Linked DNA regions of Homo sapiens: regions 1, 2 and 3 are each linked to region 4. The links are contacts of gene promoters, found by promoter capture Hi-C in blood cells and fetal thymus (Javierre and others, 2016). All regions are on one chromosome and are shown on one strand. Each heading gives the region's core, a stretch centred on a gene start or on the middle of the fragment in contact. The rest is flanking DNA. Distances are from core to core; before and after follow the strand shown.

Region 1 (6,529 bases), core at 195-2,694, 120 kb before region 4:
CAAAGAGCCCTCAGACCCTAAATAAACAGCAGCAATACCCAGGTACTACATTGAGGGGCTGAGGTGAGCCTCTGAGACTTGCTGGCTTCAGGTGAGACACAGCATATTATGAGCTGAGTGTCCACGGGCCAAAACTCCTTTTGCTTCAGAAAAGCAGAGGGAAAAGTAAGGGGGACTTTGTCTTGGATCTTAGGTATCAGCCCAGCCATGGGAGTTAGAGCACCAAGCAGTCTCTTGGCATCCCAGATTCTAGGATTTCGCTCTTGAACAGCATTTCTGGACCTGCCATGGGCCAGAGGGGAGCCCCCTGCCCCAAAATGTGAGTACCAGGCCAGGGAGTATTCACCACAAGCTGACCTAACAGCCCTCGGTCCTTAAGGGAACATTGGCAGCAGTCTGCTGGTACTCCCTGTGGCCTTTGGTGGTGGTGCCCATACAGTGAGGCTCCTCTGCCTTTGGAAAGGGGAGGAAAGGGTGGGAAGGATTACATCTTCTGGTTTGAGTACCAGCTCAATTGTAGTACAATAGAACACTAGGTAGGCTTCTAAGGTTTTTGACTGTAGTCCCTGGCTCCAGGATGACACTTCTAGACTTGCCTGGGGTCTTGGGGAACTCACTACCCTGGAGGAAAGGACACAGGCCTGGCTGGCTTTACTACCTGATGATTTTAGAGCCCCACAGCTTGAGTGAACATAGGCAGTAGCAAAGGAGTAGTTACAGCAGGCCTTGGGCAAGACCCAGTGCTGCAGTGGCTTCAGGTCAGACCCAGTGCAGTCATAGGTGGTGGCCACAGATATGCTTGTGTCACTACACCCCCAGGTTCAAGTGGCTCAGAACAGAGACAGATTCTGTTTGTATGAGAGATAGTAACGGAAAATAAAAAGTTTCTGCCTGGTAATCCAGAGAATTTTGTCAGATCTTGCCCAAGACCATCAAGGCAGTACCTCTACGAGTCTGCAAGAACCACAGTGTTACTGGGTTCTGGGTGCTCCCTAATGCAGATACAGCTTACACAACAGCCAAGTTATTCTGAATATCTGGAAAGCTTTCCCAAGAAGGATGAGTACAAAGAAGCCCAGACTATGAAGACTACAATAAATATCTAACTCCTCAATGCCCAGACACTGAATAACATCTACAAGTATTAAAACAATCCAGAAAAGTATGACCTCACTAGATGAACTAAATAAGTTACCAGGGACCAATCCTGGAGAGACAGAGATATGTAGCCTTTCAGAAAGAGAACTCAAAATAGCTGTTTTGAGGAAACACAGAAATTTAAGAGGACACAGAGAAGGAATTCAGAAGTCTATCAGATAAATTTAACTAAAAGATTAAAATAATCAAAAAGAATTAGCCAGAAATTCTGAGCTGAAAAACGCAATTGGCATATTGAATAATGCATCAGAGTCTTTTAATAGCAGAACTGATCAAGCAGAAGAAAGAATTAGTGAACTTGAAGATAGGTTGAAAATACACAGCCAGAGGAGATAAAATAAAAAAGAATAAAAAACAATGAATCATGTCTACAGGACTCAGAAAATAGTCTGAAAATGGCAAATCTAAGAGTTACTAGCATTAAAGAGGAGGTAGAGAAAGAGATAGGGGTAGAAAGTTTATTTAAAGGGATAGTAAGAGAGAATTTCCCCAACCTAGAGAAAGATATCAATATCTAAATACAAGAAAGTTATAGAACACCAAGCAGATTTAATCCAAAGAAAACTACATTAAGGCATTTAATAACCAAACTCCAAAAGATCAAGGATAAAGGATCCTAAAAGCAGCAAGAGAAAAGAGACAAATAACATATAATGGACCTCCAATACATATAGCAGCAAGCTTTTCAGAAACCTAACAGGCCAGGAGAGAGTGGAATGAAACATTTAAAATATTGAAGGAACAAAACCTTAATCCTATGTATTAGTCCATTTTCATGCTGCTGTTAAGAAATACCCAAGACTGGGTAATTTATAAAAGAAAGAAGTTTAATTGCCTCACAGTTGCACATGGCAGGGGAGGCGTCAGGAAACTTACAATCATGGCAGGAGGTGAAGGGGAAGCAAGCACTTTCTTCACAAGGCAGCAGGAGAGAGAAAAGCAAAGTAGGAACTTCCAAACACTTATCAAGCTATCATATCACATGGGAACTTATTCACTATCATAAGAAAAACATGGAGGCTACCACTCCCATGATTCAGTTACCTTCCACCAGTTCCCTCCCTCAATACCTGCGGATTACACTTTGAGATGAGATTTGGGTGGGAACACAGAGCCAAACCATATAATTCCATCCCTGGTCCCTCACAAATTTTGTGTCCTCATATCTCAAAACACAGTCATGCCTTCCTAACAGTCCCCCAAAATGTAAACTCATTCCAGCATTAACCCAGAAGTCCAAGTCCAAAGTCTCATCTGAGACAAGGCAATTCCCTTCCACCTAGGAGTCTGTAAAATCAAAAGCAAGTTAGTTATCTCCAAGACACAATGGAGGTACAGGCATTGGATAAGTGCTCCCATTCCAAATGGGAGAAATTGTCCAAAACAATTTCTTGCAAAGGGGCACAGGCCCCCATGCAAGTCCAAAATCCAGGGGGCAGTCATTAAATCTTAAAGCTCCAAAATGATATTCTTTGAATCCATGTCTCATATCCAGGGCATGCTGATGCAAGGGGTGGGCTCCCACAGCCTTGGGCAGCTCCTTCATGGGCTGATGTTGAGTGCTTGCAGTTTTTCCAGATGTACAGTGCAAATTGTTGGTGGGTCTACCATTTTAGCATCTGGAGGGTGGTGGCCTCACAGCTTCACTAGGCAGTGCCCCAGTGGAGACTCTGTGTGGGGGCTTCAACCCCAGACTTCCCTTCTGCACTGCCCTAGAAGAGGTTCTCCATGAGGGCTCTGCCCCTGCAACAGACTTCTGCCTAGACATCCAGGCATTTCCATACATCCTCTGAAATCTAAGTGGAGATTCCCAGACCTCAATACTTGACTTCTGTGCACCTGCAGGCCCAACACCATGTGGAAGCCACCAAGGCTTTGGGCTTGCATCCTCTAAAGCAATGGCCCAAGCTGTACCTTGGCCCCTTTTAGCCATGGCTGGAGCTGGAGTGGCTGGGACACAGGGAACCAAATCCCAAGGATACACACAGGAGCAGGGTCCTGGGCTCAGCCCACAAAACCATTTTTTCCTCCTAGGCCTCTGGGCCTCTGATGGGAGGGGCTGCTGCCAAGATCTCTGACATGCCCTGGAAACATTTTCCCTATGTCTTGGGGATTAACATTCATCTCCTCATTACTCATGCAAATTTCTGCAGCCAGCTTGAACTTCTACCCAGAAAATGTGTTTTCCTTTTCTATTGCATTGTCAGGCTGCAAATTTTCCAAATCTTATGCTCTGCATCCCTTTTAAACATATGTTCCTCATCTCCATCTGAGACCACCTCATCCTGGACTTCATTGTCCATATCACTATCAGCATTTTGGTCAAAACCATTCAACAAGTCTCTAGGAAGTTCGAAACTTTCCCACATCTTTCTGTCTTCTTCTGAGCCATGCAAACTGTTCCAACCTCTACCTGTTACTCATTTCCAAAGTCACTTCCACATTTTCAGGTATCTTTATAGTAGTACCCCAAACTCTTGGTACCAATTAATTGTATTAGTCTGTTCGCATGCTGCTATAAAGAAATATCTGAGAAATATCTGATTTTTAAAGGAAAGAGGTTTAATTGACTCACAGTTCCACATGGTGGGGGAAACCTCAGGAAACTTATAGTCATGGCAGGAGGCAAAGGGGAAGCAAGCATTTTATTCACAAGGCAGCAGGGGAAAGAAGAGTAAAGGAAGAACTTCCAAACACTTATAAAACCATCAGATCTCATGAGAACTCATTCACTATCATGAGAACAGCATGGGAGAAACCACCCCCATGAACAAATCACCTTCTACCAGGTCCCTCCCTCAACACATGGGGATTACAATTTGAGATGAGATGTGGGTGGGGACACAGGGCCAAACCATAACACCCTAGAACAACATACTTAGCAAAAATATTCTTCAAACATGAAGGAGAAATAAAAACTTTTCCAGACAAACAAAAGCTGAGAGATTTCATCAACACCAGACCAGTCCTGCAAGAAATGCTAAAGAAAGTACTTTAATCAGAAAGAAAATGATGTTAATGAGCAATAAGTAGTCACCTGAAGGTACAAAACTCACTGGTAATACTAAGTACACAGAAAAACACAGAACATTATAACACTGTACCTATAGTGTGTAAACTACTCTTATCCTAGGTTGAAAGGCTAAACAATTAACCAAAAATAACAACTACAACAACTTTTCAAGACCTAGATAGTACAAAAAGAATGGAGATCCCAGAAATAACACCACACACCTACAAGCATCTGATCTTCGACAAAGCTGACAAAAACAAGCAATGTGAAAAGGACTCACTGTTTAATAAATGGTGCTGGGATAATTGGCTAGCCATATGCAGAAAATTGAAACCAGAACCCTTCCTTACACTATATACAAAAATCAACTCAAGATAGATTAAACACTTAAATGTAAAACCCAAATGATAAAAGCCCTGGAAGACAACCTAGGAAATACCATTCTGGACATAAGAATTGGCAAACACTTCACGATAAAGACACCAAATGCAATTGCAACAAAAACAAAAATTGACAAACGGAATCTAATTAAACTAAACAGTTTCTGCACAGCAAAAGAAACTATCAACAGAGTAAACAGACAACTTACAGAATGGGAAAAGATTTGCAAACTATGCATCTGACAAAAATCTAATGTCCATCATCTTTAAGGAACTTCAACAAGTTTACAAGAAAAAAACAAACAACCTCTTTAAAAAGTGGGCAAAGAACATGAACAGATACTTTTCAAAAGAAGACATACATGTGGCTAACGAGCATGTGCAAAAGGGCTCAATATCACTGATCATTAGAGAAATGCAAATTAAAACTACAATGTGATACCTTCTCACACCACTCAGAATGGCTACTATTAAAAAGTTGAAAAATAACAGGTGCTGGCAAGGTGGTAGAGAAAAGGAAACACTTGTTGGTGGGAGTGTAAATTAGTTCAACCATTGTGGAAAGCTGTGAGGCAATTCCTCAAAGAGCTAAAAACAGAACTATCATTCGACTGAGCAATCAATTACTGGGTATATACCTGAAGGAATATAAATCATTCTACCATAAAAACATACACACATGAGTGTTCACTGCAGCACTATTCACAATAGCAAAGACTTGGAACCAACCTAAATGCTCATCATGACAGATTGGATAAAGAAAATGTTGTACATATACACTACAGAATACTATGTAGCTATAAAAAAGAATGAGGTCATGTTTTTTGCAGGAACCTGGATGGGGCTGGAGGCCATTGTCCTTAGCAAACTAACACAGGAACAGAAAACCAAATACTGCATGTTCTCACTTATAAGTGGGAGCTGAATACTGAGTACACTTAGACACAAAGGAACAAAGACACTAGGGCCTACTTGTGGGTGGAGGGTGGGAGGAGGGAGAGGATCAGAAAAAAATAACTATTGGGTACTAGGCTTAGTACCTAGGTGAGAAAATCATCTGTACATTAAACCCCCATGACACAAGTTTATATAATAAACATGCACATGTATCCCTGAATCTAAAATAAAAGTTTTTTTTTAAGAAATTAGTATAGTGAAATAAAACAAAGTGATCTTTAGGATCAAAAAAAAGTGGAAACAAAAAAAGTTAAAAAGCAGGGGATGAAGCTAAGGTGTAGAGTTTTTACTGGTTTTCATTTTGCTTGTTTGTTTATTTGCTTGCTTGTGCAAACAGTGTTAAGCTGTTATCAGCTTAAAATAATGGGTTATAACATAGTATTTACAAGCCTCATGGTAACCTCAAACCAAAAAACATACAATGGATGCACAAAATCATATCACCAGAGAAAATCGCGTTCATTAAGAGGAAGACAGGAATGAAAGAAAGACCACAAAACAACCAGAAAATAACTAACAAAATGGCAGGAGTAAGTTCTTACTTACCAATAGTAACACTGAATGTAAACGTACTAACTCTCCAATCAAAGACATAGAGTGGCTGAATGGATTTAAAAAACATGATCAATTTATCTGTTGCATACACAAAACACACTTCACCTATAAAGACACATATAGACTATAGATAAGAAGATTAAAAGAGATATTCCATGCCAATAGAAACCAAAAAAAGAGCAGAAGTAGCTGTATGTATATCTGACAAAATAGATTTTGACATAAAAACTATAAGAAGAGACAAAGAAAGTCACTATATAATAATAAAGGTATCAACCCATCAACAGGATATAACAACTTTAAACATACATGCAACCAACACTGGAGCACCCAAATGTATAAAGTAAATATTATTAGAGCTAAAGAGAGAGAGACTGACCCCAGTAAAATAATAGCTGGAGACTTCAACACTCCACTTTCAGCATTGGACAGATCTTGCAGAAAGAAAATCATGAAAGAAACATCA
Region 2 (6,407 bases), core at 226-2,725, 93 kb after region 4:
ACTGGCTTTGGGACCTCTGCAAGTCACTTCACTTCTCTTTCTCAGTTTCAAGTGTAAAATGCGGAAAATAATAGCAACTTATCTCCTAAGGTGGTTGTGAGGGTTGCGTGGGTTAATATTTGTGAAGTGCTTAGAACTGAGCGTGATACACAGCAAAACCATAAGTGCTGCTCATCTTTTTGAGCTTGGTATATAAAAGGAGATAGTGACCTTTTCTTCTCTTTCCAACCCCCATAAATAATTGCCCAAGAGTAGGAAAAAAGGATTTTTTTTTCTTAAGGATATGGGCTTTTTGCATAGCCTGTTTAAAAACAAAGCTTTCTAAACAACTTAGTTGCACATCCTACTTTAGAGAAAAGACAAGTGTTAAGTGATGGTGACTTGAAAACTGTAAAGTTTATTGTTTGGAAAACCGCATGAGAAAAATGGCCAGAACATATTTGTGCTAAAAAGAGTTAACATAGCAGGCCTTAAGACTGCTATCCTTAGAAAGGACTGCTTGCAATGTTGGTGCTTGTTTGGCATCTGGGAACTTAGATTTTTGGGTTTGTGCTGAACAGTATGTTTTATGCCGAAATTACCAGCTTCTGTAAAAATCCGGGACACCAAGTCTTTAATGGGCTTCCCTGCGCGGAAACTGCTGCATTTTCACTGATGGAGGAAGGATGTGTTTTGTTTGACCCCTCTTGGGAGGGAGACCGCATAAGGAGCCTACACGTGATTCCTCCAGACTCCGCTTGTGTCTTTTTCTATTATGATGAGCCTTTATATCCATACTGCATTGTGTAATAAATGTCAGCCATGAATTCAACTATATGTTGAGTCCCGTGCATCCTATCAAAGCTCTAAATGTGGGGGAGATCACGGAGATCCTCAGCCACAGTTTTGTAAATTTGTATAAAGGTAAGGGATATAAGTGCCGTTTTTTTACGAGGATATATTTCCTAGTGGTACTGGGCTTTTAGTGTAACCATCACCTGAATAATGTACATTGTGTCCATTAAGCAATTTCTCATTCCTCACCCCACTCCCATCCTTCCCAGTCTCCAGTGCCCAGACACAATTTTGATGATAAAAAGTATTGGAAGCTCTAATAATTGGACTTTTAATTTTGCCCTTTTGCCTCAAATGGAAATTGGAAAACTACAGATAAATAATTGCCGAATTCTGGGTTACTGTACCAAATGATTCTGTCTGTTTAGACATTACATATGGCAGAAAAATCATCAGAAATTGCCTCTACATTACCAAGTTAATTTTGAGTCAGTGTTTTTGAAAAAAGGCACAGGTTGCTTACAGTATGTAGGTCAAATGCCTGGTTTTGTTTATTATTTTGCTAGCATTATCTGTGTTAATGCTCATCTTTATCAAGAGCTTATCTGTACCACAGCGAGAAAATATAATCAGTTTCTCATAGGCCATTTTCCCTGTACTTTATTAGTTATACCTATCTCTTTTCAGGACATCAAATTTAAATTGATGGAGGTAGGTTTGCAAATTTGGGGTTAGAAAGATCAAATTTGCCGTCTGCTTATGTCTCTTTTCCCTTATAAAAGACTAGATCAGTTTTTGGTAAGTTAGTTGGGAGTTGGAGGGGTTAGAGGTTTGAGGAAAGTGAAGAAGATTTGAAATGGCTCTGTGGATAGTATGTAAGTTGACCAGAAGGTGAAGTGAATAATAATGGACCTAGTCTGCTTTCTTAAGAGACTTTCTCCCGACATGGAGAAAATGGTTAATTGGGTTCATCTAGGATTGGGTTCTGCGAGAGAGGTGATGTAGTCCTTAAGGCTCTGCACAAGTATTCCGGTTCACCTATTTTTGGGTACATGTAATGCTGCACTCTTTGTACATGGGCAACCCCTCTCCATGTCTGCTTGAAGTTAAATGTGCCATGTGACTTGCTTTAGGAAGCAGCTCTCCATTTGCCATTTCCACTTCTCCCTGCCCTGCTGTAAGGGTCATGGAAGGACTTGTTGAGATGCAGCCTCTTGTCAGCCTGGACACTATAGGAAAATATGAGTGGCTGATCAGGCAAGTTGGAAGAACTGGGAAGTTGCTGTCAGAGAAGGGGATACTTAAATTAGTGATTTTATAAGGTGGAACTGTAGGGGAGAGTAGATGAGGAAGTTTGGAGGGAGAAGGTAGAGATGAAGTGCTCAAGGAACTCAGAGGCTTTTTACATGTTCCTAACCCGGAAGCCCTTAATTTATTGCAACTTAGTTCAGTAGTGATGACCGTTGGACTTAATGGTAAACTTGAAAGCTCCCTTATTGTGAATTATGGAATGAATAAATCAAGATTTGGAATTTAGTACTGAATTGAAAGATTCATTACCTTGATCATTGAGAAGTAAGTCAGCAACCATGAAAATTGCGATGTTGCTTAGCCACCAGGCAGGAGAGTAAAAGGTAGGCCAAGCTACTCTAACAGAGACTCCAAAATATAGTAGTTTTAAAAAATGCTTAGCTTGTATCTAAAATCTTTGATAATTAACTGAATTTTTAATAAATATAAGGGATAGAGGTAAATAACACTATGAAGAAAGAGACAAATTCAGTGTGAGACATTATATAACTTTGCTGTCGAAAGAGTATTCTATGGGCCCCCAGCAGTGGCTTCAGTTAGAAGCTTTTTAGGTAGGTAGAATCTCAGGTCTTGTGCCAGACTTGTTGCATCAGAACTTTCATTTTAACAAGACCCTCAAGGTGACTCATGCACTGGCCTGATCTCTTTAAAAAGCTAAAGTCTTAGGCAAGTAACAGGTTGGAAGAACTGTTCTGTTAATAGATTAAAAGATACTAAAGAGACATAACCAATATCAAGTGCAAACCTTGATTGAATCTTTTTCAAAAAACCAGCTATAGAAGACAATTTAGGGTCAACTAAGGAAATTAGAATATGATGGAATATGAGATGATATTAGAAAATTATTAATTTTCTTAGATATGATTACATTGTTATATAGGAGAATGTGCTTATTTTTAAGAGATACATGCTGAAGTATTTAGGGATGAACTGTCAAGATCTCTACAACTTTCAAATAGTTCAACTATGTGTATATATATATATATATATATATATATATATATATATATATACACACACTCACATACATATATGTGTCTCTCTATACACACATATTGATATTTAGATAAAAACAAACATAGCTAATTGTTAATAGGTGTGGAATTGGTGGGGCACCATGGCTCATACCTGTAATCCCAGCAGTTTGGGAAGCCAAGGCATGTGGATTGCTTGAGCCCAGGAGTTCGAGACCAGCCTGGGCAACATGGGGAAATCCCATCTCTACTAAGAAATACAAAAAAATTATCTGGGCATTGTGGTGTGCACCTGTAGTCCTAGCTACTTGGGAGGCTGAGGTGGGCGTATCACCTGAGCCTGGGGAGGTTGAGGCTGCAGTGAGCTGAAATCAGGCCACTGCACTCCAGCCTGGGCCATCAGAGTGAGACTTTGTCTCAAAAAATAATAATAGCCGGGCACGGTGGCTCACGCCTGTAATCCCAGCACTTTGGGAGACTGAGGTGGGCGGATCACGAGGTCAGGAGATCGAGACCATTCTGACTAACACAGTGAAACCCTATCTCTACTAAAAATGCAAAAAAAATTAGCCAAGCCTGGTGGCACACGCCTGTAATCCCAGCTACTTGGGAGGCTGAGGCAGGAGAATTGCTTGAACCCAGGACGTGGAGGTTGCAGTGAGCCGAGATCCATCTCAAAATAATAATAATAATAATAATAGTAATAATAATATAAATGTGGAATCTAATTAGTATATGAGTGTTCATTATACTGTTCTTTTAACTTTTGTAGATGTTTAAAATTTTTCATGATAAAAAGCTAGAGTGAAAAACCCCCAAAAATGTAGTAGCTTAAAAAGATAGAAATTTAATTTTCTCTTAATATTCCAGTGCTAGTTGTACAACACAGGTATAGAGTGGCTTTACTATGCTTGGCTTACAGCTATCCATTTTTGATCCAGTATGGCTCATCCAGCTCCTACTATTTCCTTGCTAGCAGAAGGGAGGAAAGGGTAAAGAGAACTCATTATCCAGAAGCAATACTTACTCCGTTGATGAAAACTTTAGTTTTGGTCATTCACCTGGACATCATATATTTAGGGGTTGTGTCTTGGTTCAGCCTGGTATAGCAAATTATTATAGACTGGGTGGTTTAAACAACACAGACTTATTTCTCACAATACTGGGAGCTGGGAAGTACAGGGTCAAGATGCTGGCAAATCTAGTATCTGGTGAGGGCCTTCTTCCTGGTTTATAGATGGCCATCTTCTCGTATATCCTCATGTGGATACAAAGGTAGCTTTCTAGCCTCTTATTATAAGAGGCCAGTCTCATTCATGAGGGCTCCACCTACATGACCTAATTACCTCTCAAAGGCTTCACCTCCAAGTATCATCACTTTGGGGATTAGAGTTCAACATATCAATTTGGAGTGGGGACACAAACATTTAGTCCATAATGGTATAGTTGGCAAAAGCCAATGGAATATACCATGTGTATACTGATTTAACAAAGATTTATTTCATTTCAAGTGATGTTCCCCTCTTCTTCCTCTGTTGATTTCCCGGACCAGTTGAAATTGAAGTCATTTCAGTTTTAATACACATTAAATAAAATATAAAATTTTAATTTTGAAGACTAAAATGTATGAATTTTTTTCCCTCAATCCCTTCAGTAAATAACAGATGCGGGTGAAAGATCCAACTAAAGCTTTACCTGAGAAAGCCAAAAGAAGTAAAAGGCCTACTGTACCTCATGATGAAGACTCTTCAGATGATATTGCTGGTAAATTGTGATATATGGCATCCCAAATAGTGTTGAGAAGAAATAACAATGCAGTTGACCCTTCAACAACATGGGTTTGAACGCTGAGGATCAACTTGTACACAAATTTTTTTCCACCAAACCTAGATGGAAAATACACTATTCTTGGGATGCGTGAAAACTGCATACTTGGCAGGCTGACTTCTAAATGCAGATTCCACGGGGCCCACTGCGGGACTTGAGTATGCACAGATTTGGGTATATGTGGGGAGGTCCTAGAACCAACTACCCCACCCCACCTCCCTGCCTCAAGTATCTGAGGGAAGACTGTATATGTTTTTAATTAAGAAATCTGTTACTCTTTATTTTTACTGTTTTCTGCATAAATATTAGAATCACCTTTTCTAGTTCCAAAAAATCCTGTTGGCATTTTTATTAGGATTTTGTTTAGTTTATAACATGAAGTAACTTAGATTGGCTTTTTTTTTTTTTTTGGTCTCTTTCTCATGGCCTATTAAAACCATGTCACCAAGCCACCAGAGCTTGGCAGATGGCTTTTGGGAGCTGCTGGCCTCAGGGCTTGGTTTTCTCTTTAGCCTCATGCTTTTGATTTGGGCCTCTGAGGATTTTCCTCACTTTCTTGCTAGTTCTCTCCATTTAAAGGGATATTTTTAATATATTTTTTCCATTTTAGGTATGCATAGTTGCATACAGCTATACACAAACACACTCACATATGAGTGCCTATGTCTTCTGAAATCCGAATAAGTTCTAAGGATTGTACCAACGTCAGCTTCCTGGTTTTGATATTTTACTATAGCAGTGCAAAACATTAACATCAGGGGAGGCTCAGTGAAGGGTGAATGAGACCTCCTTGTATATTTCTTTATACCTTCCTGTGAATCTAAAATTAGTTCAAAAATTTAAACTCTAATAAATTAGGGACATCAGATAAGGTCCTAATGATATTTAAAGAGATAATTCAGACATCCTTCAGTGCAGCAAACTGGCTATCGAAACATCATCCCATTTTAGTACATGTATAGCTTTGTATAACCACCACCAATCAAGATACTTGACTGTGTCATCACCACTCTATGTGCTGTCCATTTATAGCAACACCCTCTGCCTTGCGTCCATTGCTCCCTACAACCATGAATCTCTTCTCATTCTATAATTATGTTATTTCATGAACATTATATAAATGGAATTATATAGCATATATCTTTTGAGTTATTTTGTGTGTTCAATCTCTGTGCTTTTTAGTTAACAGCATTTAATACTTTTGAGGTTTGCTCAGTAATGGTAGCACTTTGGTGTAGCAAAGAAAATGTTGAGATTTTGTTTTATCTTATTCAGTAGGTTTAACTTGCCAACATGTAAGTCATGCTATCAGCGTGAATCATGTAAAGAGAGCAATAGCTGAGAATCTGTGGTCAGTTTGCTCAGAATGTTTAAAAGAAAGAAGATTCTATGATGGGCAGCTAGTACTTACTTCTGATATTTGGTTGTGCCTCAAGTGTGGCTTCCAGGTAAGAAAAGTATTATTTATATGTGAGTTTGTCTGAAATGTTTTCCTTAAATGCTTATTGTGAGTTGGACTGT
Region 3 (6,804 bases), core at 3,217-5,716, 120 kb after region 4:
TTTCTTTTCATGGGTAATGGTATTTAGAAGTTAGACCTTTTCTACTTGTTCTCGACTGTTCTTTTACATTTAGTTTTTTAATTCATCTGCAATTTATTCTGTAATATAGTGTGAGGTGCAGATCTGTATACTAAAGTTTAAATTAATTCCTCTAGCAATAAAATATAAAACCAAAGATAGTTGTGTTTATATTCTTCCCCTTCAGGAACACTGATTCAGGGAGATAATCTTATTTAAATTTAATTTTAAATAATGTATATAAATTATGTTAAGTGACATATTTATCTTTACATCTTGTGTCAGTTATTTTTTCTCTAACTTGTAGGTGCATTTTCTAGAATCATGAAACTTTGTGAAGAAAAATGTGAAACAGATGAAATACAGAAGGGAGGAAAATGCAGAAATTTATCTGTAAGAGGAATTACAAATTTAGGAAATACTTGCTTTTTTAATGCAGTCATGCAGGTAAGAGTCATCAGAAAGCTTTGTAATATGTAAAAGATTCTCTTAATTTATGTAGTCATTGGCTCACCTGTAGACTGTCAAATGACTGCTAAATGTTCCTCTAGAAATTTCTCTGTTTTCCTTTTGTTTACGCTATCTTGGGCCATCACCATATGTATACATGTACCTTATTTTCACACAGGGCTTCTGAAAGGTCTTCTGTGTATTTTACCATGGCTCTATCGGTAATAGTGACCTTTACTAAATGTAAAATGTACTCAACTAAATCTTAATATTTTTTGAAATAGACACTTTTGCTATGCTAGATGAAATTTGAGAGTGTATTCCATAAAATCAGAGGCATATTTTAACTGAATCTGAAGACTTTAATTTTGTTTTCTTTTAGAACTTGGCACAGACTTATACTCTTACTGATCTGATGAATGAGATCAAAGAAAGTAGTACAAAACTCAAGATTTTTCCTTCCTCAGACTCTCAGCTGGTGAGTAATAACTGTTTGAATAATAGCTGCTTTCAGATGAGCCACTGATGTTACCAAAATCTCTTTTCCTAATTCGCAGATCAGTCAACTAAGATAGTAGCCAGGGGGCTTAAAAATAATTTAAAAGCATTCTGTGAAAATAATCAGATTTAAAATTTCTAAAATCATAACTTTAAGGTATGTTATGGTTCCAATATGCCATGGATCAAATAATAAAAAGATATCAAGGCAGCTTTAAAATAAACATACTGGAAGAAACAAAAGAGGTGTGACTTCTATTGAGCAAAATGCCTATAACCCCTATTTTGTAGTTTCTGGTGACATTTGTTTAAATTTAGCATTTTTGTTCTTTAAAGAAAGATGAAATTTTAATAGTGAGCATCTAAAGGTTTTTTTTTTGAGACGGGGTCTCGCTCTGTCGCTGGAGTGCAGGCTGGAGTGCAGTGGCGCGATCTCAGCTCACTGCAAGCTCCGCCTCCCGGGTTTATGCCATTCTCCTACCTCAGCCTCCTGAGTAGCTGGGACTATAGGCGCCCGGCTAACTTTTTTTTTTTTTTTTTTTTTTTGTATTTTTAGTAGAGACGGGGTTTCACCATGTTAGCCAGGATGGTCTTGATCTCCTGACCTCGTGATCCACCCGCCTCGGCCTCCCAAAGTGCTGGGATTACAGGCGTGAGCCACCACGCCCGGCCACATCTAAAGGTTTTTTGAAGCCTAGCCTGATGATAGATTTTTAAGCTAGTGAGAAAGATGAAAAAAAGAGCAGCCCCTGATATTCAGAAGCTGGCCTGGCACCAACAGTTAGGCCATGTTATTCAGATAATCCCACAGAATAACAATCTGATAGTAGGTTTCTCTGAGACTACGATGAAATAAGACAAAGCAAGTCCACTTCATGATTTTGTCTAAAACAAGATCACTTTGCCATTTAGAAAATCTGAAACACCCTCCTTCAGCCAAAATGAGAAATGAAGGAATGCTACTTTACTAGTTAGAGATTTATCCTCATTTTAGTCTCCCCCACCAACTGCCACAATATGTAAGATTTATTGAGATGTCCCATGATAGAATTAGCCTCGCTTTCTGAGGGCATTCACTCTAGAGTAAACCTCTGCTTCCTGAAACCCACCTTCAGGTTATTCAACCAGAGCCTAAATCCTGGGTAGGTTCTTTACAGCACTCTCTTACTAGGACACCCTGTGGTTCCCCATGCTGCGTGATCTCCCTCACTGCCACAAGTAATAAACCCACCTAGTTCAACGATAGGTGTGTTTCTGATGGACTTTGGCTGGGAGGTGTTGATACTAGTAAGGATAATTTTAGTGAGAAATTGATCAGCCTGTGTGTGTGTGTTTGTGTGTGTGTGTAAGTGTGTAAGTCAGAGTATATGTATAGCTCATGATCTGACTTTTGAAAACAATTAAAGAGTTCTAAAAATGCTTAGCCCTCTAAACATGCTTAGTAATCTTAGATTGTTTTTCCCAGTAGGCACTTTTGAAAGACAGTATTGTTTTATATATATATCTTTGAAAGACAGTATTATTATATATATAACATACTGTTATATATATATAATAACCTCCTTTTTATATATATATTTACATGTAAATGTTTACCATATATATATGTATATATAGTCGAAAAGCAGCCTGTAAACATTTGTTCAGCCCCTTAAAAATTTAATGATAGATTCCAATGCCCTATTCTAAATAAAGTGTAGTGAGATCCTTAAAACTACTAAAGGGAAGTTATTGCCTAGTCATTTAAAAAGACCTGTTAAATGTGATTTCCTGTTAAATGCGATTGGATGTTGAGTTTAAATATTTGACATGCAGAGCTGTGTTTCAGGATTACTATATGGCAATTAGATACTGTAGTTAATAACTTTAGGTTTGTATCATTCTAACAGGGTAATTTTGAATCTTATATCTTAGGTTTTTAGGGCATAAAGTTGACCTGAGCTGTGGCACTGTTCTTTGAGTTGGTTACTGCCCTTTGAATCACCAGTTTATCTTTGTCTTTTGTCTATATACCGTTTATTTTTTTATTTTTATTTTTTTACCTTATTGTGCTGGCTCAGAGCTCCAGTAACATGTTGAATAGAGATGATGGGAGCAGTCAGCCTTGCCTTAATCCCAAAATTAGGGGAACAAACATTCAGCCTTCTCCCATTATTACATACGAAGGTACGATTTTCAGAGGTGTTCTTTGTAAGCTTGAGGACATTCCTTTCTATTGCTAGTTTTCTGAAAGTTTTATCGGAATGGATGTTGAATTTTGTCAAATGCTTTTCCCACATCTATTGAGATGATCATATGGTTTTTCTTCTTTATTCTGTTAATGTGGTGAATTACACTGATTCCTTTTTCAAGTGTTAAACCTATCCTGTATTCTTGTTACAAACCCCAGTTATGATATGCTTATATGCTGCTGGATTCAATTTAATATTTATGCGCATATCAACAGTGTGTGTGGAAAACTTTTTATTTAATGAAAATATTCTTTAAAATGTATATTATGAGTGTATAACTTGATGAATTTTCACAGCTAACACACTTGTGTAACTAACACCTTGCTCAAGTAACATTACCAGCATCTGGAAGGCCCCTTCAACTCCCCCCCACATTCACTACTTCCCTAACCCACATGAGTAACCACTAACCTGGTTTCTAACAGGATAGATTAGTTTTGCCTGTTTTAATACTGCATATAAATGGAATCTTACTATATACATTATTTTGCATTTGGCTTCTTTCTGTCAACATTATGTGTGAAATTCATCCTTCTTGCGTTTTCAGCAAACTTTTGTTTTCAAAGTTTAAGTGTATTTTTTATTTTTATTTTATTTATTTTTTGAGATGGAGTCTTGCTCTGTCACCCAGTCTGGAATGCAGTGGCACGATCTCGGCTCACTGCAACCTCTGCCTCGTAGGTTCAAGCAGTTCTCTTGCCTCAGCTTCCTGAATAGCTGGGACTGTAGATGCGTGCCACCACACCCAGCTAATTTTTTTTTTTTTTTTTTTTGTATTTTTAGTGGAGACAGGGTTTTGCCATGTTAGCCAGGCTGGTCTCAAACTCCTGACCTCAAGTGATCCACCTGCCTCGGCCTCCCAAAATGCTAGGATTACAGGCGTGAGCCACTGCGCCAGGTCTAAATGTACTTTTTAAAACTAAGGTTATTTCCTCATCTCATTCTGAAGGTTTTTTATTCTGTCTAAAAAATATTTTCATTGAGAAAAGGGAAGTGCAACTTGGTACTTGAAGTTTAAAATTACCTTAGATTTTACTTTTGACCCTTGAGGTAACTTTCAGTTAACATGGCAGAAAACACTTTAAAAAAAAATAGACTTTATTTTTTAGAGCAGTTTTAAGTTTACAGCAGAAGAGAAAACACTTTTTTTTTTTTTTTTGGAGACAGTCTCATTCTGTCACTCACACTGGGGTGCAGTGGTGCCATCATGGCTCATTGCAGCCTGGGCTTAAGGGATCCTCCCACTTCAGCCTCCTGAGTAGCTCGGACTGCAGGCACGTGCCACTACACTTGGCTAATTTTTAAATTTTTTTTGCAGAGACGGAGTCTCCCTATGTTGCCCAAGCGGGCCTTCCACTCTGGGCTCAAGTGATCCTTCCACCTTGGCCTCCCAAAGTGTGGAGGTTACAGATGTGAGTCATGGCATCCAGCCCAGAAAAGCACTTTTGACATTCAAAAGCTATGGAAGGCCGAGCACCATGGCTCATTCCTGTAATCCCCTAGCACTTTGGGAGGCCGGAGTGGGAGGATCACTTGAAGCCAGGAGTTTAAGACCAGCCTGGGCAACAAAGTGAGACCCCCCCTCTACCCCCGTCTCTACAAAAATTTTAAAAATCAACTGGATATGCTGGCATTCATCTGTAGTCCCAGCTGCTCAGGAGGTGGAAGCAGGAGGATCACTTGGGTCCAAGAGTTTGAAGTTACAGTGAGCTGACCGCACCACTGCACTCCAGCCTGGGTGACAGAGTGAGACTTCGTCTAAAAAAAAAAAAAGAAAAAACACAAAAGTCTGTCTTGAGTCCTCTGTAATTTTGACTGGGTGTGGTGGCTCATGCCTGCGATCCCAGCTACTTGGGAGGCTGAGGCGGGAGGATTGCTTGAGCCTTAGGAGTTCAAGACCAGCCTGGGCAACCCTGTCTCTTTAAAAAAAAAAAAAAAAAAAAACTATGGAAAATTATAGCCTGTCCTTTCTGTGATTATAGTGGATTTTTAAGGATAGTTGTTATAAAATACATATGTAACAGTTATTTCATGAATATAGGAATAGGACAATATATTCAATAGTTATCTTGGAAGATAACATTCTTTTTTTTTTTTTTTTTTTGAGACGGAGTCTCGCTCTGTCGCCCAGGCCGGACTGCGGACTGCAGTGGCGCAATCTCGGCTCACTGCAAGCTCCACTTCCCGGGTTCACGCCATTCTCCTGCCTCAGCCTCCCGAGTAGCTGGGACTACAGGCGCCCGCCACCGCGCCTGGCTAATTTTTTGTATTTTTAGTAGAGACAGGGTTTCACCTTGTTAGCCAGGATGGTCTCGATCTCCTGACCTCATGATCCACCCGCCTCGGCCTCCCAAAGTGCTGGGATTACAGGCGTGAGCCACCGCGCCCGGCCGGAAGATAACATTCTTTAATGTCCCAAGTTTATATTTGGGATCTGCTTTCTATTCCTTGTCCTTTAGGAGAAAGTGTTATTGGTGGGGATAGTACTTTAGAAACCAGATTTCGAGGGGAAAAAAATTCTAGAATTAAATGGGTTAATCCTTCACCCAATGTTAGCTGCTTTTGTCAAGCTTTATGTCTCTCCCCTTTAAAAGAGGGAGATGTTATGCTGATTTTGTTACATGATTCCACATTATTACTTTACTAGTAAAATATTTGGGGAAAAGAAAGGTGTATAATCCTACATTATACACAAATAATCATACATTATTTACTAGCAAATAATGTATGATTATTCGTGGAGTGGTACAAACATTAAGTAGATTAGTGATTTTATTTATAGGAGAGTGCATTAAAGGACAGTGACAAGCAACTAAAGATTGGTGATATCATTTGATCTAATAGTTTTATTAAGCAAAGGGCAGAGGATATGAAAATACCTGTGTTTTTCAAGGCAGGTATTCTGTTTTCCATTTTTATATATTTTATTTATGAAATAATAAAGTTTCTTAATACAATTGAGGCAATTTAGTTGGTGTTATTTAAGCAGAGTGTAACTCACAGATTTTTAATATGTTATTTTTAAATTGTACATTTCTGACATAGAGTTGATCATGTTTTTAAAGGACCCATTGGTGGTGGAACTTTCAAGGCCTGGACCACTGACCTCAGCCTTGTTCCTGTTTCTTCACAGCATGAAGGAGACTGAAAAAGGACCACTTTCTCCTAAAGTTCTTTTTAATCAGCTTTGTCAGAAGTGGGTGCATCTACATTTAATATAAATAATTATGAGTTACAAAATACTAATGTATTCATCATTTAACATGAATAGTCGTTTTTACTGTAACTTTGCTCTTATTGCCCTGACTATGAAGAGAACTAAAATTTGTTACAGCTCTATGCTTTATGAAAATTATATCTCAGTCCTCAGAAGAAGCAGCTTATCCTCATATATAAGGAAATGGAGACACAGAAATTAAATGGCTCACCTAGTCTGAGTGAAAAGCTGAGAATCAAATGGAGATCTGTCCTGACTTGGATGCCTATGTTGTAATACCATAAAGTGAGAAAACCATAGAGTTGTAAAATCTAGAAAGTACCGTAAGATAACATCTAATCTAGCTTTCTTATTTTAAAAGATGAGCTGTGAGGCAAATAGAGTTTAAGT
Region 4 (6,111 bases), core at 3,612-6,111:
CAGATCTTCTTCCCTTTATGTATATTAACTTCTGGGTTTGCATAACACAAGTAGCTCCCACCCCTACCCCATAAGACCTGTGAAAACTCAAGTGATAAGCACTGCATTCCAACTGAGTCCAAGGAGAGCAGAAAGAAAAATGGGAGAAGAGTATTTGCCTATGACACCCTACCCTAATCGTTTATAGAAGTCTTAGATAAAACCATTTCAATATTCTGTTACCTTGTACTGAACATTCATGTAAAATGAATCGTGAAAAAAAGAGAGAATAGACCTCCTGGGTTCTCTTGGTGGGTATGTTGTCTTAAATAACTTCCTTCTAACTTCAGAGCCTTTCTCTCTCTCATCACCCCTTTTGAAAGAGGGAGTTTTCAGAGTCTGCCGCAGAATGACTCAGCTCAATGCAAAGCCACATAAGCTTTTTTCTTAAAATGAGGGGGCAGTATTTTCCTCCATCTTACTATGAAATTGAAACCCACTGAAGTTAGCTAGTATTAGGAGGATAGCAGCCATCCCTATTTATTTCTTCCTCTTTCCAAGCTTTAAGCAGCATACGTTTAATATATACTTTTTTTCAGTTATCCTAACTGACATATTCTCCAGACTCTGAGATCCAAATCATGCCAAGAGTATCAAATACATTTAACAAGTGACTGCCTCCTCTTCATGTAACTCTAAGGTGGTCAAGAGTTCAAACTTCTCCAAGCTGGGGAAGTCAGGGTTCAAAATCACCCATGCCTTCTCACCTCCAGAAAAAAAAAATGTTTATTTTGACATCTGTTACCATATGATGTTTATAAGCTCAATTGGCTGAAAGGAAAACACAAGGACCGCTATTCCAGTTGCTTTTGTACTATTTGGGACTACCTAAGAAAGGGTGTTCTCTGTAGAAATGGCTGGCTTCTAAAGGTTAGTGGCCCGCCAAATTCTATAGTGGCAGATTTGAGAGTTCTCCACTATGTGGCTTTTATTATACTTCTCTTTTTACTGGAAGAAGTTGACAAGAGAATGTAATATAATGTGATGCAAGGAACAAACTATTTTAGGATAATTTGAATACTATACCTACAAAATAAACAGAATTAACTTACAGAGGACGATGATACTTTAAAGTGATTCATTGTTTTGAATAAACTTCATTCTGTGTTATTCATGAAGTGTTTCCTAATTCACATACTTGTATTGATTTCTCTAAACCTATTTCTAAAGGGATGAGATTGAGCAGGCAATTCAGGAAGACAGCATGTTAGAATATTTCACAGCATTCATTATTTTGATGTTAAATGTGTCTTTAGGAGAAATTACAGACAATTGTCAAAGAAAAAAAGCCATGGAAGCTTTGTGTGTGAAAAGGAAGTCTCCAAAACCTCAACTATTCTAGCACCTCCTAGACTTCTTTCCACAGGAAGTGTTCTTCAGTGTTCAAGGGTAGGTTTAAAAATGTTTTTCTGTTTAGTTACTGCACCTTAATTTGCATAAATCCGCTCTTGGCTTTGAAGGGATCAAATAAATCTGAGAAGAAACTGGGATACATCCCAGATTCAACTTAAGTAGGCAAGGGGAAATGAATAAATGCCACTTAAATGGAAGGGTCTCAGTACCTGCCAACTGACCAGCTGTAAGTACCGTAATACTTCTAAAATGCTGTAGAAATGCACTGCTCTCCTGGAAAGCCAGTGGAGAAGAAATGTCCATGGACTTTGTAAAAGCATTCCAGGTTTGAGTTATACTCTGTGGAACTCATGATGTAATTACTGTAACAACAACTTAAGGCTCCTTTTTTATTTTTTATTTTTATTTATTTATTTTGAGACAGGGTCTCACTTGTCACCCAGGCTGGCATGCAGTGGTAACATTACGGCTCACTGGAACCTTGACCTCCTGGGCTCAAGTGATCCTCTTGCCTCAGCATCCTGAGTAGCTAAGACTACAGGCATGTACCGCCGCACCTGGCTAATTATTTTTTTGTTGTAGAGACAGAGGTCTCACTATGTTGCCCAGGCTGGTCTCGAACTCCTAGCCTCAAGTGATCCTCCTACCTCGGCCTCCCAAAGTGCTGGGATTACAGGTGTGAGCTACCGCGCCTAATTTTTTTTATTTTAATTGAGTAAATAATGGTCTGTTTGAATATGCAACAGAAAAAGGATGGCCCCATTAAGTTCATAGAGCCTACTTTTTCCCCTGCCATTGTGAGCCAGATTGCTACTATCACTGTTATCGTTTATGGTTGATTTTAAGGAGGTAGTGGCGACCTCTCTCCTCTTTGCCTTGAAATACAGGGAATGTGAATTCCATTTTACATAGATCGAGCTATGTCTAGGGACTCGCTTCAAGACAGGAGGAGGAGGGCTGGACTTTTGCCCATCCACGCTTTTGGAATGGGTACCTTTCTCGTCGTGAGTCGGAGTCGCTGTGGTGGGGATGTCGAACCACTGAGCCAAGGAGTTAGAATACCACACTGTCAGCTCCTCCCCTGGCTGGACGTCTCGCAATGCTCGGTAGAAGATCTGGGACGCAAGGAATAGAACAGTTCAATGTCATTTCCTGGGTAATCGGTCAAAAAGCAACTGAGAAGAAAGGTTCAAATCCGGATTCTGATGCTGTGTGACCCTGGAGAAGCTACTGGAGCTCTCTGAACCTCACTTCCGTCATCCTTCAAACGGAAAAACAATAGTAACTACCTTAAAGGGTTGTCGAGACGTTTAAATGAGACGTCTAGCTAAAGTACTTTGCTCTTAATATTTTTGGCCACCGCAGGGACGGTTAGGTAGACTGAATTGGCGGTGGGGAGTGGGGGGGTGTGGAGAGAAGCCCGCAGTACCTGTCCTCCGGGTAAGTCTGCAATAGCTTCCAGAGTCTGTTCCTGGGAGTTTCTGGCTGCCCGGATTAACCCTATCCACTCCAGAGGGGAGCCCCCCGACTCGTCCACCAGCTCCCCTCTCACCATGCGCACCTGCAACACAAGCAGTGGTCGTTCTCCCCCGCACCTTGGCCAGGCCCACAACCCAAACAGAAAGTTTATCCTCCACCCCAACCCAACACAGGAAAGTGGTTGTTTTTGGTTTGGCCAGACCACTATGGGCTACTGGGAGGAGGAGAATTCCTTAGGACCTTGCTTCGGGGAGGGAGAAAGAGGAAAGTCTACCTATGCTAACAGTACTCCCACTTCCCTGCGCCCCACCTTGACGACACGGGGAGGGGAGAGGGGTGTTGAGAGCATCCTCCCTGAGTGCTTAGGCACATCTTGTACCAAGTTGTCCCCTACCCCAGCTCTCCCATTTGCAGTTCTGAGAGCAGCCGTAACACCACGGTAGAGACATTTCTAGGTCAGTCCCAGGGCCCAGAGCGTACCCCCGACAAACAAACAAAAAAATTATCTCATGCCTCCTGTATTCTGTGTGCATCGCACCTAGTTGCCTGTGAGCCCTGCAGCTAAAGTCTCGGAACAAAGCCCAAGCGGGGAAAAGCTTGCCCGCAGCTGGCAGGCCATTTAAAAGCAATTAAAACGCGTTTAAAGAGGAATGCGCGGTGGGCACCAAACCCCGCTTTAGACTGTAGTGGGGGGCGTGATTGCAGGAGGAGCGAGGTGCAAGTCCCGCTGGCTGGACACCGGAGCTTTTTACTAGAAAGCTCCAAGCAAGGCAAGCTAAAGCCAAGGAAGCCAAAGTCCTTTCTTCTACCCCAGACTTCTGCCTTCATTTCCCGGTCGCTGTTTGCCGACCTTTGGCTCCTGGGACGCCCCCAAAGCGGGCGAGTGCTATAAGTCTCTCTGGTCAGGGGTCGCGACGGTGTGTGGAGTGTGGGAGTCAAAGCTAGTGGTTTGGCCCTGGCGCCTCCCGGTTGGGCCTCTGGACTCTCAGAGCCCCGCTGCAGACGCTCTGACCCTGTGCCCCGCGCGAATGGGCGCGCCTCGCCCTTGGAGCCCGCGTCAGAGCCAGTACCTTGCTCATCCTCTCTCCATATGCCGCATACCCACAAGCCGACATCGGCAAGGGAAAAAAAAATATCTGAGGAGGTTCTAGGAACTGAGAGCCTCCCAAAGATTTTTTTTTTCAGGAAAAAAAATTACTTTAAGGCGAAATTAGGCCTCAAATTAACATATTGAAGGGCAGAAGGGAAGAAAGGGTCTCGATGCCCTGAGCCCCCAGAAAGAGGGTGCTTTTGCAGAGAGAGCTGCGGACAGCGTGCGGGGGTGGGCTTCTGGCTTCTGACTGAGGAGACCCGAGAGCGCAGGGGAAAACACAAGCTGCGAATGGTCCCGGCACCTACAGCGCTCAGTGCACCCCACCCAGGGCTGTCGCCTCTCGGCCACATCCTCTCCTCTCAGCCCGACCCCGTCCAGCTCTCACAGTTAAAGAGGCTACTTGCTCAGAATAATAGGAGTCCCCTTCCACCCGGCAGAATTAGCAGGTAACGACTCAATCACTCCCTTCCTCCACTTTCTCTCGTACCCCTTTCCCGGGTCAGGGCACTGAGAGGCGAATGGCAGTGGGCAGAGGTCTGAATGGTCAATACCTTTTTCTTAGGCCCGGGCTCCCTGCGGTCTGACAGGTACTTGCCCAGCTTGAAGGTACCAGGCACCGGTCCGAGGCGCAAGCCGGCCGGGATGCAGCAGTCGGCACTCACGCTGGTGGCTGGCGCTCTGGCGGCTCCGTGCATTGTTGCCGCCGCCACCAGGCAGGCGCTCGGGTGCTCCAGGTCCTTGGAAGGGCGCGAGTGACAGAGCTGGAGCTGCGCGCTAGCCAGAGAGCCGCGCCCCGACGTGCGTCCTCCGCCCGCGGAGTGACGCGGGCGGGCATGCACTGCGCCTTTTCAATCGGGGCGGGAGCCTTTTGGCACCGCTAGCGCAAGGGCGCGGAGTTTGGTGAGAGAGTTGCGCTGCGAAGCAGCTGCAGAGTCCCACCCGAGAGGGTCACATGGAGTGGTTCCCTCAGCCCCCTGCATAATCGAGGCCGCTGAATGGCTAGCACACAATGGTCCAGGCGACCTTCCCATTCCTAAAAATCCAATTTGTCAAGGGCGAAGAAAAGGCACTGGTGAATCAAAGGTCCGGCGGGACCATTAATCCTCAGCATGGGGTATTGTCCTCCAGACAGTTACGATATTTTAAGTGACAAATCCACTGTATAATTTCTCCATAAATTTTACTTCCTTTTATTGTTCCCCGACAAACCAGTTTTGGGAAATAAGTGACTACTTTAAGTCTACTTGGCTGATTCCTTTGAGCCTTGATCTACTTCAAAGATTTTTAATTCTCTCCCCTTGGCTTTATTGTAAAGGAGATTAAACAAAGAGATGGAGACTGTTTGGAGGACTTGTTAACTACTATTGATTTCTGGCGTGTGCCATACAGAAATTAGGCAGGTACTTGATGGGAAAACACCAGAAAATACCTACACTTTTTAAATAACAACCATATTACCATTTCAGGGGATTGGGTTCAGGCCAGTCGTCTATTCAGAACCGCTTTAATTCTCACTTCTGTCCCATTTCGTCCGAAAATATGATGAAGCCTCCAGACCAAGTTGAGAAGGGGAGGTCAACTGCTCATCACTTTTCTCGGGCACACCCCGGGCCTGCACTTTCTCTGGAGAATGGGAAACAGCCCCAGAACCAACAGTTTCGAATGGGGATCCTGCGCCCCGGTCCGCAGCCCAGGGTTGAAGAGGAAGAAGTTCTACCAGTGGGTTATTGATCACGTCCCCTAGAAGATGTCCTTGGACTAACTTCCCTAAAACCAGCAACCTGGACTTTTCTATTAAAAAAAAAACAGTAAACAAAAACGAAAATCACCGCAATCTGTTAAAGGTTGTAGAGAAGAGGGGCGAGGTGGGCGTTTGGGACAACTCTTTCTTACACCTACTTTGTGAACTAACAAGACGTTGTACTTCAGAGTTAAACCGGAGAGCTACCCGTTTTCTTTTAGGGAAGCCTCCAATTGGCGTGAGAACATTTATTTTCATAAATAGTAGCCAAGTAATCAAGTTCATCAGATATTTGTGATTTCTGCCGGCACCTGCCGCGTGCTGCTAGTTCTGAGCACAGCTCCCCAAATCCTATGCAGCCAGCACCGGAGCCCGATGCAGTTCTTCCAAGAGAGGCCTGAGTGGT

What was found. The method cuts DNA at HindIII sites, captures the fragments that hold promoters and counts their contacts. A CHiCAGO score of 5 or more calls a contact.
Region 1: a contact is called between a fragment that was not itself captured here and the fragment with the promoter of PRDM13 in region 4, in 1 of 17 cell types (erythroblasts). The highest score is 5.1, in erythroblasts.
Region 2: a contact is called between a fragment that was not itself captured here and the fragment with the promoter of PRDM13 in region 4, in 4 of 17 cell types (monocytes, activated CD4 T cells, total B cells and 1 more). The highest score is 8.0, in monocytes.
Region 3: a contact is called between a fragment that was not itself captured here and the fragment with the promoter of PRDM13 in region 4, in 1 of 17 cell types (total B cells). The highest score is 5.6, in total B cells.

The regions. Positions count from the first base shown.
Region 1 is chr6:99,718,893-99,725,421 of GRCh38, reverse strand. No RefSeq gene overlaps it. Among named protein-coding and RNA genes, the nearest start is that of PRDM13, 120 kb to the right of the region's middle. The HindIII fragment of the contact is 794 bases long and covers 1,048-1,841 here.
Region 2 is chr6:99,508,537-99,514,943 of GRCh38, reverse strand. USP45 (ubiquitin specific peptidase 45) reads left to right here. Exons shown (of 18, transcript NM_001346022.3): 2 at 4,714-4,823; 3 at 6,162-6,334. The coding sequence starts at 4,724. Among named protein-coding and RNA genes, the nearest start is that of USP45, 3.7 kb to the left of the region's middle. RefSeq lists an enhancer at 1-513. The HindIII fragment of the contact is 2,311 bases long and covers 320-2,630 here.
Region 3 is chr6:99,482,342-99,489,145 of GRCh38, reverse strand. It overlaps USP45 (ubiquitin specific peptidase 45), which reads left to right. Exons shown (of 18, transcript NM_001346022.3): 6 at 326-465; 7 at 851-946; 8 at 6,263-6,393. Among named protein-coding and RNA genes, the nearest start is that of USP45, 30 kb to the left of the region's middle. RefSeq lists a silencer at 3,822-3,961. The HindIII fragment of the contact is 2,606 bases long and covers 3,164-5,769 here.
Region 4 is chr6:99,605,583-99,611,693 of GRCh38, reverse strand. PRDM13 (PR/SET domain 13) reads right to left here and starts at 4,861. Exons shown (of 4, transcript NM_021620.4): 1 at 4,516-4,861; 2 at 2,822-2,953; 3 at 2,387-2,507. The coding sequence starts at 4,659. The HindIII fragment of the contact is 6,161 bases long and covers 3,470-6,111 here.